Regions from separate parts of the Homo sapiens genome. Here regions 1 and 3 are each linked to region 2. The links are contacts of gene promoters, found by promoter capture Hi-C in blood cells and fetal thymus (Javierre and others, 2016). All regions are on one chromosome and are shown on one strand. Each heading gives the region's core, a stretch centred on a gene start or on the middle of the fragment in contact. The rest is flanking DNA. Distances are from core to core; before and after follow the strand shown. Region 1 overlaps SUSD1 (sushi domain containing 1). Region 2 holds the start of PTGR1 (prostaglandin reductase 1). Region 3 overlaps SUSD1 (sushi domain containing 1).

Region 1 (4,040 bases), core at 1,056-3,555, 500 kb before region 2:
GCACCCTAACTGATCAAGGGCTGATCATATTACTTATAGGACCTTCACGAAAGTTTTTTCCCTATAATTCCCTGCTGGAGCTGGCAGTGCGTAGAGGATGGTTAGGTGACAGTGTGTGATATGACTCCATGGATCAAAAGCCCTTTTACCAGAGGTCTAATAGGAAGGGTCCAGTGAAGTACCATGGCATTTGCTTTGAATGCATAATCTGGGGTGGTCCCCATATGTTTTTGTTTTTTTTTTCTTCCATGGGTAGGGTTAAGGAACCCACCTAGTTTAAGTACTCTGTTCTATGAGGCTTGTCCATGGATTTCTTACAATGAAAAGAAACTAAAAGAATTTTGGTTGGGTGCAATGGCTCACACTTGTAATCCCAGCACTTTGGGAGGCTGAGGTGGGCTTGAGGCCAAGAGTTTGAGACCAGCCTGGGCAACAAAGTAAGATCCTGTCTTTACAAATTAATTGTAAAAATAATTACCCAGGTGTGGTGGTGCATGCCTGTAGTTCCAACTACTCGGGAGGCTGAGGATCACTTCAGTCCAGGAGTTTGAGATTGCTGTGAACTAAGATTGTGCCACTGCACTCCAGCCTGGGTGACAGAACAAGACCCTGTCTCAGAAAAGAGACAGAGAGAGAGAGAGAGAGAGAGAGAGAGAGAGAGAGAGAGAACGAAGTATTCAGAAGGGAAGGAGGAAAAAAAATAATTTTGCCCATTAGCTCCAATGTAATCTCTTTCACTTGCGTTATAATCAAGGGATTATTTTGGAATAGACTAATATTTTCTTCATCTGAGATGTAGTTATGCATATTAAGCTTGGTCCTATACCTGATTGTGAGGACAGGTAAGGTAGCTTTGTCAAGTCCTTCCTCAGGTTAGCTTGCTATTGTCTTAAAAGTAATTCTAAGTGGGCAAGGATAAATAAAAGGAACTTTCTTGTTTTAACTCCATTTTGCTAATAGTCTAGGCACCTGTTAGTCAATGGAAAATCTAATGTAACACTTTCTTTTAATCTCATGACAGTTTACCGTTCTGGGTCAGAGGTGGTATCTGGCTAACTTTTCTCATGCAACATCGTTTAACTTCACAACGAGGGAACAAGTGCCTGTAGTGTGTTTGGATCTGTACCCTACGACTGATTATACGGTGAATGTGACCCTGCTGAGATCTCCTAAGCGGCACTCAGTGCAAATAACAATAGCAACTCCCCCAGCAGGTGGGTGTAGACGTCTTTCTTTTTTGTGCCTCAGGACAAATTACCTATGTGAATTGAGCAGTGTGGGCGGGCATAAGAGTGCTAGTTTGGGAGTCAAGAGACAGGGGTTCCAGTTCTAACAAACTTTGTTAGCTGCGTCTGGGGTTCAGGATGCCTGAATCTTACCACTTATCCCCTTCCCTGAAGGGTACTGGCTCATAGAGGGCACAGACCAAGGATAGACTGATTTATTCAGAGCTCCCTGGGAGTCCTAAGTTGAGAATTCCATAAAGCATTTTATCTCTCACCCCAAATTTAAGACAACTGAACCCTAAGGGTATTCATTATCGGCAAGTAGAACGAACTTCCAGGAGACCAGAAACGTGGGTCCCACAGTGTCAGGCACTGGCAGGCAATACAGCCTCAGGACTAGGCCACGCATAAGCAAATTAACTTGACATAGAGAACAGAGGCCTGATTAAGGTCAGGCTCCTTAGAAATTCTTCCCTTGCAGTCTTTTGAGGAAGCCACATAGGTGCCAGCTGTATTAACTCCACAGCTCCCCCTAGTGGGATGGCTGTGGTGCAGCCATCACTACTATTTCTTTTGTTCTTTAATCCTGTGGGTTTATCAGACAAATTTACGGGCAACCAGAAGAGGCTACCCCTTTGAAGGAAAGCAGCAGAAGAGGGTAGGTCCTGCTGCTACCTCCCTGAAGCCGCTCTGTGATATTCACCTCTGCTCTTTGTGGGTCAGGGTGGGCAGTTTGGCCTTTGCATTTAGAAGACTCTGGGCCGGGTGCGGTGGCTCACGACTGTAATCCCAGCACTTTGGGAGGCCGAGGCTGGCAGATCACCTGAGGTCAGGAGTTCGAGACTAGCCTGGCTAACATGATGAAACCCTGATTCTACCAAAAATACAAAAAATTAGCTGGGCATGGTGGTGTGTGCCTGTAATCCCAGCTACTCGGGAGGCTGAGGCAAGAGAATCACTGAACCCGGGAGGCAGAGGTTGCAGTGAGCCGAGATTGCGCCATTGCACTCTAGCTTGGGCAACAAGAGCCAAACTCCATCTCAAAAAAAAAAAAAAAAAAAAGACTCTGAAATGTGTTAGACACTCATGAGAGCCACGTAGCACCTGAGGCTGAAAATTAATTTTTTTTTTTTGAGATGGAGTCTCGCTCTGTCACCCAGGCTGGAGGGCCAGGTGCCATCTTGGCTCACTGTAACCTCCACCTCCTGGGCTCAAGTGATCCTCCTGCCTCAGCCTCTTGAGTAGCTGGGACTACAGGCGCATACCACCATGCCCAGCTAATTTTTGTATTTTTAGTAGATACAGGGTTTCACCATGTTGGCCAGGCTGTTCTCGAACTCCTGACCTCAAGTGAGGTCTTCCAATTCAGCCTCCCAAAGTGCTGGGATTACAAGTGTGAGCCACCGTGTCTGGCTTCAGTTTTTATCCTATTTTTTTTATCAGATTGAGCCTGGCACCTTGTCCTGTCTGTATCAGCAGAGTTTGCACAAGGAGCACCTCATGACATCATAAACCTACCCCCCAACACATTTTCAGCTGCATAGTAATGCTCGCAAATTGAATATGAATTCCCTCCAATTATTAAATTCTTAGAGAAATAAAAATCTATAAATAAAATCTAGCTGGGTGCAGTAGCTCACGTCTAATTCCAGCACTATGGGAGGCCAAGGCGGGTGGATTGCTTGAGCTCAGGAGTTTGAGACCAGCCTGGGCAACATAGTGAAACTCTGTCTCTATAAACAATACAAAAATTAGCTGGGTGTGGTGGCATAAGCCTGTGGTCCCAGCTACTTGGGAGGCTGAGGTGGGAGAATCTCTTGAGTCTAGGAGGTTGAGGCTGCAGGGAGCCGAGATTGCGCCACTGCACTTCAGCCTGGGCAATAGAGCAAGATCTCCTCAGATAAAGAAATAAGAATAAATAAATCCACCTCTCCTTGTAAAATAAACTAAAATGTAAAGGCATGAAGTCCCCAGTTTTTTCTATCCTACATCTTTTCTGCTGAGTCTTGGCCAGAGTGTCCTGCTGAGTGGAGAGTGTGTTCTAGCTGTTGAAACCTAGGAATCTTGTTTTGTAATAGATGCTACTCCTTTGGTGTATAGGAGACTGGCAAATGCTGAGGTTTTGAGGCAGGCACATACTTGGCATATTCTAGGAATGTCATGGAAACCAGTATGGCTGGAGCAGAGAGCTGGGGACAGTGGTGAGAGATGAGGTCTAAACTCTAGCATGAGTATAATAAATGAGAGGCCCATGGTGTCAGGTTCAGAAAGAAGCCTGTTGTTACCTTCTCCTTTGCCTCCCTAAATTACTAGTAGTAAGTATAATGTAGCATGCCATAGTTCAGCCTCTGTAGGTTACCAAGCAGTCTGGAGTCTACCACGTGTCAATTTAAACTTAAATTGGGAAATGTCTTCTCGTCAGGGTAGTTGGATTCATTTTGACACTGTACTCTCCTTGAAAATTTTAGACATTTGCAGTGGTGGCTCTAGGTCTTTCTTGATGCCCGTTCCAAAGATTAAAACCTTTCCATTTTCGTTGCTCCCTTGAGCCCTATTTCTACCCAAGCTTCACCATTGCTGAAGATCTTTATCTGTTTAGTGAAAGAGTCTCCCTTCTTTCTGGGCAGGACACCCCACATTTATCTTAGGAAACTCTTCAAGTGAAATGCATCATCTTGCATGCTTCCTTCCCTGTCTCCATTTCTGACTCTTTTCTCTGAATTTCTCTAAACCCAGAAAGATCCCCCAAATTGTTTTAGTTCTGGACTCCACAGGCTCCTATTATTGAATGTCTGCCTGTGAGTCCTACTTCCT
Region 2 (3,631 bases), core at 533-3,032:
GTTTTCTTTTGAGACGGGATCTCACTTAGACACCCAGTCTAGAGTGCAGTGCCACGATCGCAGCTCGCTGCAGCCTCCACCTCCCAGGTTAAAGCTATGTTGCCCACGCAAGTCTTGAATGCTTGGCCTCAAGTGGTCCTTTTGTCTCAGACTCCAAAAGTGCTAGGATTACAGGCATGAGCCACAGCACCCAGCCTGGGAATGGAGTTTTGTTTTATATTAAGTTACATAAATTAATGAGAAGGGAGAGAGTGAGAAAGAAAGAATTTGGCAGACCAGTGGGGATAAAGTGCCACCAACTCTGATTAGTGTGAAGAATTCAACTCTCGGCATTGTGTTTTTAGGGTCCATCCAAGTTGCTTTATGTACATGGAACCCAGTGCTTCTGATGCTGTGTATATCCTGTGGCATGCGTCCACCACGCTTGGTCCACACACTCTGTTATGGGCTGAACTGTGTCTTCCCCAATTTCATGTGTTAAAATCCCCAAGTCCCAGTACTCAGAATGTAACTGTATTTGTAGATAGGGCCTTTAAAGAGGTAATTAAGGTTACATGAGGCCATATTAGTGAGCCCTAATCCATTTGACAGTATTTGAAGACAAGGCCTTCAAAGACGTGTTTAAGTTAAACGGAGGCTGACAAGTGGGGCTCTAATCCAATATGGCGGGTATCCTTACAAGGAGAGACATTGAGCCAGGTGTGGTGGTGGGCCTGTAATCCCAGCTTCTAGGGAGGCTGAAGGAGGATCACCTGAGTCCAGGAGTTCAAGGCTGCAATGAGCTATGATGCCCACCATTGCACTCCAGCCTGGGTGACAGAGCAAGACCTCAAAATAATTAAAATTAAATAAATAAATTAAAGACATTGAATCTTCACAATGACTGGAAGTTAGGCATTCTTCTTATCCCCATCTTGCAGATGGCTGAACTGAGTGAGGCAAGGAGAAGGTAAGTAAGTCTTTGAAAGCTACACCACTAGTAAGTGGCAGGTGCAGGCTTCGAACCTGCAGTCGTCTAATACCAACGACTTAGCTTCACGTTCAACCCCTGCCTGAGACCACCTCTCCTTGCAGAAGCCAGGTCAAGGCCTGATGTTTGCTAGGGTGTGATGGGTGGGGTGCCTCAGTGGCAAGAGTGCTCACTCCTGCCTGGGGGAGTCTGGCAAGGGTTCACAGAGGTGACCTTGAATTGGCTGGTGGAAGGCGAGTAGGTGTTCAGCAGGCGGACTGGGGACAGACAGGCAGGGTGTCTGCACCGCAGCCCTGGGCGAAAGCTTGCACTGCGGGCAAGCGGCAGGGCTGACGGGGAGCCCAGGGATCGGAGCCAGCACCGGGGGCTTATTAGGGCTGCGGCCGCCCCAGGCCCTGCCTTTGGACCCTTCCGGCCTGCTTGGCAGATGCCACGGTTGGTTCCCCCACGGGGCATATTTCCGCCGGGCTCCAACTTAGGACCCCAGGCGGAGGTCCAGTGTCAGCTGGACAAAGCTCTGTTAGGAATTTTCCTATCAGGAGTCCCTAACCCCCTACACGCACACACACGGGCGCGCGGGCGCGCACGCACACACACGCACACATGCACACATACGCGCGCGCACATGCACATAGGCACACAGAGATACGCGCACACACACACACAAACGCACTCAGATTTCCCGGACCCTGGTTTTCCTCCTGTGACCCTTTCGGGGCCGGGCTCTCACCCTAAAGAAGCAGCCCCGCCCTGGGGTGGCCCCACCCTCTCTTGGGACCTGTCATAAGTCGGACCCCGGGCGCCCGGCTGCGCAGTCCCAGCCGCCTTCCCCAGGCAGTGGAACCTTCGGGCTCCTGTAAGTAGACCTCCTGCTTTCTTTCCTTCCCTTTTCTCCCTCCTCTAACCCCCTTGCTTTCTTCCTGCCAAGTTTCTAGACGCCCCAGTGGAGGAGGTTTGCTCTTAGACCTCCTCCCCTTACGTCGAAATGACCGCTGGGTCTTGCACTCGGAGGATCTTGGGAGCCGACGTCCCGACGCCTCCCGCCCCCGCAGTTCCTTGGAGAGCTTGGAGCCGCGCGCCGGAGGGAATAGGAAAGCTTGGTTACAACCCGGGACACCCGGTAGCTTCCTGCACCCGGGAGGGGGCTGGCCAGGGAACTTGCTGGACTGCACAACTGGGGGAGGGTAGAAGAAGAAAGATCGGGGTGGGGATTCGGGAATGGGCAAGCGGGCGGCGGGCGGCGGGAGGCGAGGGTGGGAGCAAAGGGCGAGCGGGCAAAGGCCGGGCGCCGCGCCAGGCCCCCTCCTCGGGCGGGCGAGACTTTCCCGGGACCTGGCCCCTCTGCGGCCAGACCCTTTCCAGGAGGGCTTCTGGACTTGTAGCGAGTTTGGAAGCCCAGCGGTTGCTTTTTTGGGGAAAGGGACAAAGATGTGTGAACTCTAAAGAAGTTGAACTCATAGAAATAACGACTAGAATGATGGTTGCCAGAGGCTGGGAGCGGGTTCGGGGGGGAATGGGGGCTTGTTGGCCAAAGGGTACGAAGTTCAGAGACGAGAGGAGTAGGTTCTGAGATCTGTTGCACAGCAGAGTGACTAGAGCCAATAATGTGTATTTCGAAATAACAGAGTAAACTGCAAATGTCTCACCGTAAAAATGATACGTAGGGCCTGGCGCGGTGGCTCACGCCTGTAATCCCAGCACTATGGAAGGTCGAGGCGGGCGAATCATTTGAGCTCAGGAGTTCTAGACCAGTCTGGCCAACATGGGGAAACCCCGTCTCTACTAAAAGTACAAAAATTAGCTGGGCGTGGTGGCGGGCGCCTGTAATCCCAGCTACTCAGGAGGCTGAGACAGGAGAACCGCTTGAACCCGGGAGACGGAGGTTGCAGTGAGCTGAGATCGCGCCATTGCACTTCAGCCTGGGCGACAGAGCGAGACTCCGTCACAAAAAAAGTCTTAATTTTAAAAAAAGAAAAGAAGGAACAACCCCGGGCTGCAGATCAGACCGCCCCCCTGGCTCCCTCGCAATGCGGGAGTGCTCCCTCCAGGTCACCGTGTCCCCTCCCGCGGCACCGGTAGGGGAGCTGGGGAGATCACTGGCAGCTCCAAATGGTTTCGTAACTGGATTGTTTGTAGCGGATGCACCCGCGGGAAGGCGCAGGTCCCAAGTGATTCGGCAGAGTTCAGTCCAAGCAGAACATCCTGAACCCCCAGCTCGGGGCAGCCTTCATCATCTTCCCTTGCTTTGGTGCAGCGTTTCAGCTCAAAATCGGTTTGGTGTGGAGTTTAAACTCAAATCCCTACTGGGCCAAAGAAAATTCGCACCCGATGGCTGAGTGCAAGTGGTTCACACCTGTAATCCCAGCACTTTGGGAGACCGAGGCGGGCGGATCGCCTAGGCAACACAGTGAGGCTCCTCTCTACAAGAAAAGAGAGAAAAAAAAGTATTTAAAAAAAAAAAAAACGCACCTGAAAATGGGGCGGAGCAGCGGCGCCCTCCGGTGGTTTTCAGGAGTTCTGAGACTGCCTTGAAATGCGTGGCTGTTTCCATCTGAAAGAGGTGCATGGACTTCTATCTATTGGGTTCTTTGTGTTTGATGCTTTTTCTTAGAATTCACTCCATGTGAGATGAGAAACGGAATGGAATATTCGCACTTCCGG
Region 3 (3,853 bases), core at 640-3,139, 470 kb before region 2:
TGTCATCTGGCCCCTGCCTACTTCTAATTCATCTCCCCCTGCTCTCCTCCTTTCCCATTAAGCATCAGCTGTCTCCCTGGCCTTCTTGCAGTTCCTTCAATGGGTCAAAGTTTTTCCAGCCTCCAGACTTTTCCATCTGCAGTTCACACTTCCTGGGACACTGTCAACATATGGCTTCTCCATAGTTGTTCAGGTGCCTGCTCAACTGCCATCACCAGCCTCCACGCTAGTACTCTGTATCTACTTACCCTGCTTCAATTTCTTCATAGAGCTTCATATTAATAAAAAATATTAATTATTAGTTTTTAGAGATAGGGTCTCACTCTGTCACCCAGGCTGGAGTGCAGTGGTGCAATCATAACTCACTGCAGCCTTGAGCCCCTGGGCTGTAGCAATCCTTCTGCCTCAGCCTGCTGAGTAGCTGGGACTATAGGCGCTCACCACCATGCCTGGCTAATTACAAAAGGGATTTTTTTGTTTTTATTTTTTGTAGAGATGAGGGTCTCCCTATGTTGCCTAGGCTGGTCTTGAACTTCTGGCCTCAAGTGATCCTCCCATCTCACCTCCCAAAGTGCTGAGATTATAGGCATGAGTCTCTGTGCCCAGCCTAGAGCTTGTTTTCTAAAAACTTATTTTTTTTTTATTTTCTTTCTCTCCCACTAAAATAGGAGCTTCCTGAAGACAGTGATTTTTGTCTGTATGTTTTACATTCAACCCTCAGTGGGTAAGAATGGTACTGATAGATAGCATAACAGCCCAAAATTTTAAAATAACAGCCAGTGGGTGGTATTGGTGTTGAGGAGATGTCTGGTTAGGCAATGAATTCTGGCTACCAGAAAGAATTCCCCACATTTTGGGCTGGAGAGACAAGTGGTGTTCAGTCTGGGCATTTCTTTCTGTGGTGACTTATTAAAATGAATAGCGACTCCATCTCCATTTCCTACTCTGTGGTCTTTCTCATATTTGGATGCTGTGCTTTTCTGGTTTGAAGGACCGTTGCATATTTTTTTGAGTAAAGGGGAGGGGGTTTCATCTTGATGAGACACTTACTCCTTGTTTGGTAGGCTGAATAGAGCTTTAGTGGCTCAAGTTCCCTCTCTCTGTGCTCATGGCCACCAGGGGACATTGTTGAGCTGTTTAATGTTCATTGAGATGCCTATTTTCCAACTCTACCCACTTTAAAGGACTCGTAATTTTAAAGAAGCATAAAAAAATCAAGTTGCTTTGATCTTATGAAAGAGTTAAAAAAAAAAAAAAACCAACCCCTTTCTTTTATAAAAGGAGGAAAAAAGAGAAGCTTATGTGTTGATGTGCAGAGATACTCGTGGTTTCCTAAGAAGTGTGTGGCCTTATTTCGGTAAAATCATGAACTTTTGAATTTTGGCAGATGTGTTAGGCTAAGGATTTGGGTCTGGACAATGTAGCTGCTCATTTCCCAGAAGGAAAGAGAGTGGAATTTCCCTTCTGAGTGTCTTACGTTAAATCTTACTGATGGGAACAGGATGAAAACAAGTGCTTTAAATACATCGCTGACCTCAGAGGACAGTGAAGGTTCTAGGAATGTTGAGGGACAGAGGCAAGTGTTTCGGTGAATGCAGGAAAGCAGGGGCTGGCGAGGGGGTGGGTGAGATGGAGCTGTGGCCTCACGGTGTTTCTGACTCTTGGCTGATAGGCTGCAGACGGCACATTGAACTGAATTCTTCAGGATAGCCCCACGGCACGCATCCCCTTTAGGACAGGGTGAGGAACAAACTTTCATCCTTGATGCAGGCCCCAAAGAGTCAGAAGAGCATCCACATGTTGAGTGTGCTATTTTCTTTTTCTTTTTTTTTGTTTTGAGACAGAATTTCGCTCTGTCACCCAGGCTGGAGTGCAGTGGCGTGATCTGAGCTCACTGCAACCTCCACCTCCTGAGTTCAAGTGATTCTTATGTCTCAGCCTCCCAAGTAGCTGGGATTACAGGTGTGTGCCACCACGCTTGGCTAATTTTATATGTTTAGTAGAGATGGGGTTTCACCATGTTGGCCAGGCTGATCTTGAACTCCTGGCCTTAAGTGATCCGCCCACTTCGGCCTCCCAAAGTGCTGGGATCACAGGTGTGAGCCACTGCACTGGCCTCCTTCCCTTCCTTTCCCTTTCCCTTTCTTTTTTTGAGACAGTCTTGCTCTGTTGCCCAGGCTTGCTCTGTTGCTTACGCAGTGGTGTGATCTCGACTCACTGCAACCTCTGCCTCCCAGGTTCAAGCGATTCTCATGCCCCGACCTCCCAAGTAGCGGGAATTACAGGCACACATCACCAGCCCCGTCTAATTTTAAAAATATATTTTTAGTAGAGATGAGGTTTTGCCATGTTGTCCAGGCTGGTCTCAAACTCCTGACCTCAAGTGATCTGCCTGCCCTTAGCCTCTCAAAGTGCTGGGATTACAGGCATGAGCCACTGTCCAGCTGAGTATGCTATTTTCTTGCTAAGTCTAAAAGCTTTGTAGGCAACATTTTCTTATATAGAGAGAGAAAGAGGAAACCAGAGAGAGGAGGATGGGGGTGGGTGGGGGCGGGGTGGGGAAGAGAGAGAAAGAGAGAGAGAGAGAGTGAGCGTGAGAAAGCCAATACATACGTAAATGTGGAGATAAACCAGACCACTTGTCTTACACAACATGGTGATCATTTGAGATGGAATGTTTATTATGGAACCAAGCATGCTGGAGGAGCAAAGGGAAGAAAAGATGAAAAGGAAATTATTTATTCCCATGTCTTCAGTACCAAGGCTGGCAACTTCTTCAAGAAATTTCCCATCTCTCATTGTATTCATAACAAGAAAAAGGAAAGTACTTTTTCAGACGGTTAGGAAAACAACAGAAAACACAGGAGTGTCCCAGGCATTTATCAGATTGTCACTTTATCAGAGAGGTCCAGCCAGGACTGCCCTGATCCTCCCTGCCCCTGCCTCTGACACCGCCCTCCACAATGGGATGTCCTCAGGGAAGACTGTGCAGGACTAGGTCTCTTGGTTTCTTTTACCGAGGCTTCTCTTTCATGGTTGGTTACCCACAAACCATCCAAGGATGCTGTACCCCTGTGTCCTCAGTGAGAAACCCATCTCCCCTGGCTGGTTCCAAGGTACCACACTTATCCCTGGGGGCCCCCCTGGCTCCAAGGGGGCTGAAGCTGTACCACAGGTCAGCAGAGGGACTGGCCTTCATGCCAGCTGTTTTCCTTTCCAAGTCTTCCGTGGACACAGGCTCTTTTGATATCTGGAGCCCTAACATTAGGTCACGCTAGGAGAGGCATGTTTGCCCTTCCATGCTTCCACAGTCCACGTATTTCTCTCATTCCCAGAAATCTCCCAACTGCTTTCTAGCTTCAAAACAAACCCCAAGCCCCCAAGTAAATGGCTGTGTGGGGATGGGTGTCTCCCAGACCCTCTTGCTACCAGCATCTGAATCTCAGCCAAAGTTAGCTTTTATAAAACGTGCATGAGAAGGTATTCTTAGATCAGAAGCCTGGAAACTAGGGTTTCTGTGTGTGTTGGGAGAGGGGGAGGGGCTTGCTGAGCTGTAACAATTTAATTTAGCAAATATTTATTTATTTACTTGTATTTGTTAAAAATGAGATGGGTTGGCCAGGCACGGTGGCTCATGCCTGTAATCCCATCCCAGCACTTTTGGAAGCTGAGGTGGGTGAGTTCGAGACCAGCCTGGCCAACATGGTGAAACCCAGTCTCTACTAAAAATACAAAAATTAGCTGGGTGTGGTGTGGGTGCTTGTAATCCCACCTACCTGGGAGGCTGAGGCAGGAGAATCTCCTGAACCCGGGAGGCAGAGTTGCAGTGAGCTGAGATTGTGCCACTGCAGTC

The links. The method cuts DNA at HindIII sites, captures the fragments that hold promoters and counts their contacts. A CHiCAGO score of 5 or more calls a contact.
Region 1: a fragment that was not itself captured here is called in contact with the fragment with the promoter of PTGR1 in region 2 in 3 of 17 cell types (activated CD4 T cells, total CD8 T cells and total CD4 T cells); the score reaches 5.8 in activated CD4 T cells.
Region 3: a fragment that was not itself captured here is called in contact with the fragment with the promoter of PTGR1 in region 2 in 13 of 17 cell types (naive CD4 T cells, total CD8 T cells, naive CD8 T cells and 10 more); the score reaches 19.4 in naive CD4 T cells.

The regions. Positions count from the first base shown.
Region 1 is chr9:112,095,644-112,099,683 of GRCh38, reverse strand. It overlaps SUSD1 (sushi domain containing 1), which reads left to right. Exons shown (of 17, transcript NM_022486.5): 10 at 1,022-1,214. Among named protein-coding and RNA genes, the nearest start is that of LINC02977, 57 kb to the right of the region's middle. RefSeq lists enhancers at 113-1,031, 1,032-1,951, 4,001-4,040 and a silencer at 1,673-1,792. The HindIII fragment of the contact is 2,979 bases long and covers 816-3,794 here.
Region 2 is chr9:111,597,798-111,601,428 of GRCh38, reverse strand. PTGR1 (prostaglandin reductase 1) reads left to right here and starts at 1,782. Exons shown (of 10, transcript NM_001146108.2): 1 at 1,782-1,826. RefSeq lists an enhancer at 1,359-1,931. The HindIII fragment of the contact is 792 bases long and covers 1,277-2,068 here.
Region 3 is chr9:112,072,200-112,076,052 of GRCh38, reverse strand. The region is part of intron 12 of SUSD1 (sushi domain containing 1); the gene reads left to right. Among named protein-coding and RNA genes, the nearest start is that of LINC02977, 34 kb to the right of the region's middle. RefSeq lists an enhancer at 2,168-2,337. The HindIII fragment of the contact is 1,180 bases long and covers 1,300-2,479 here.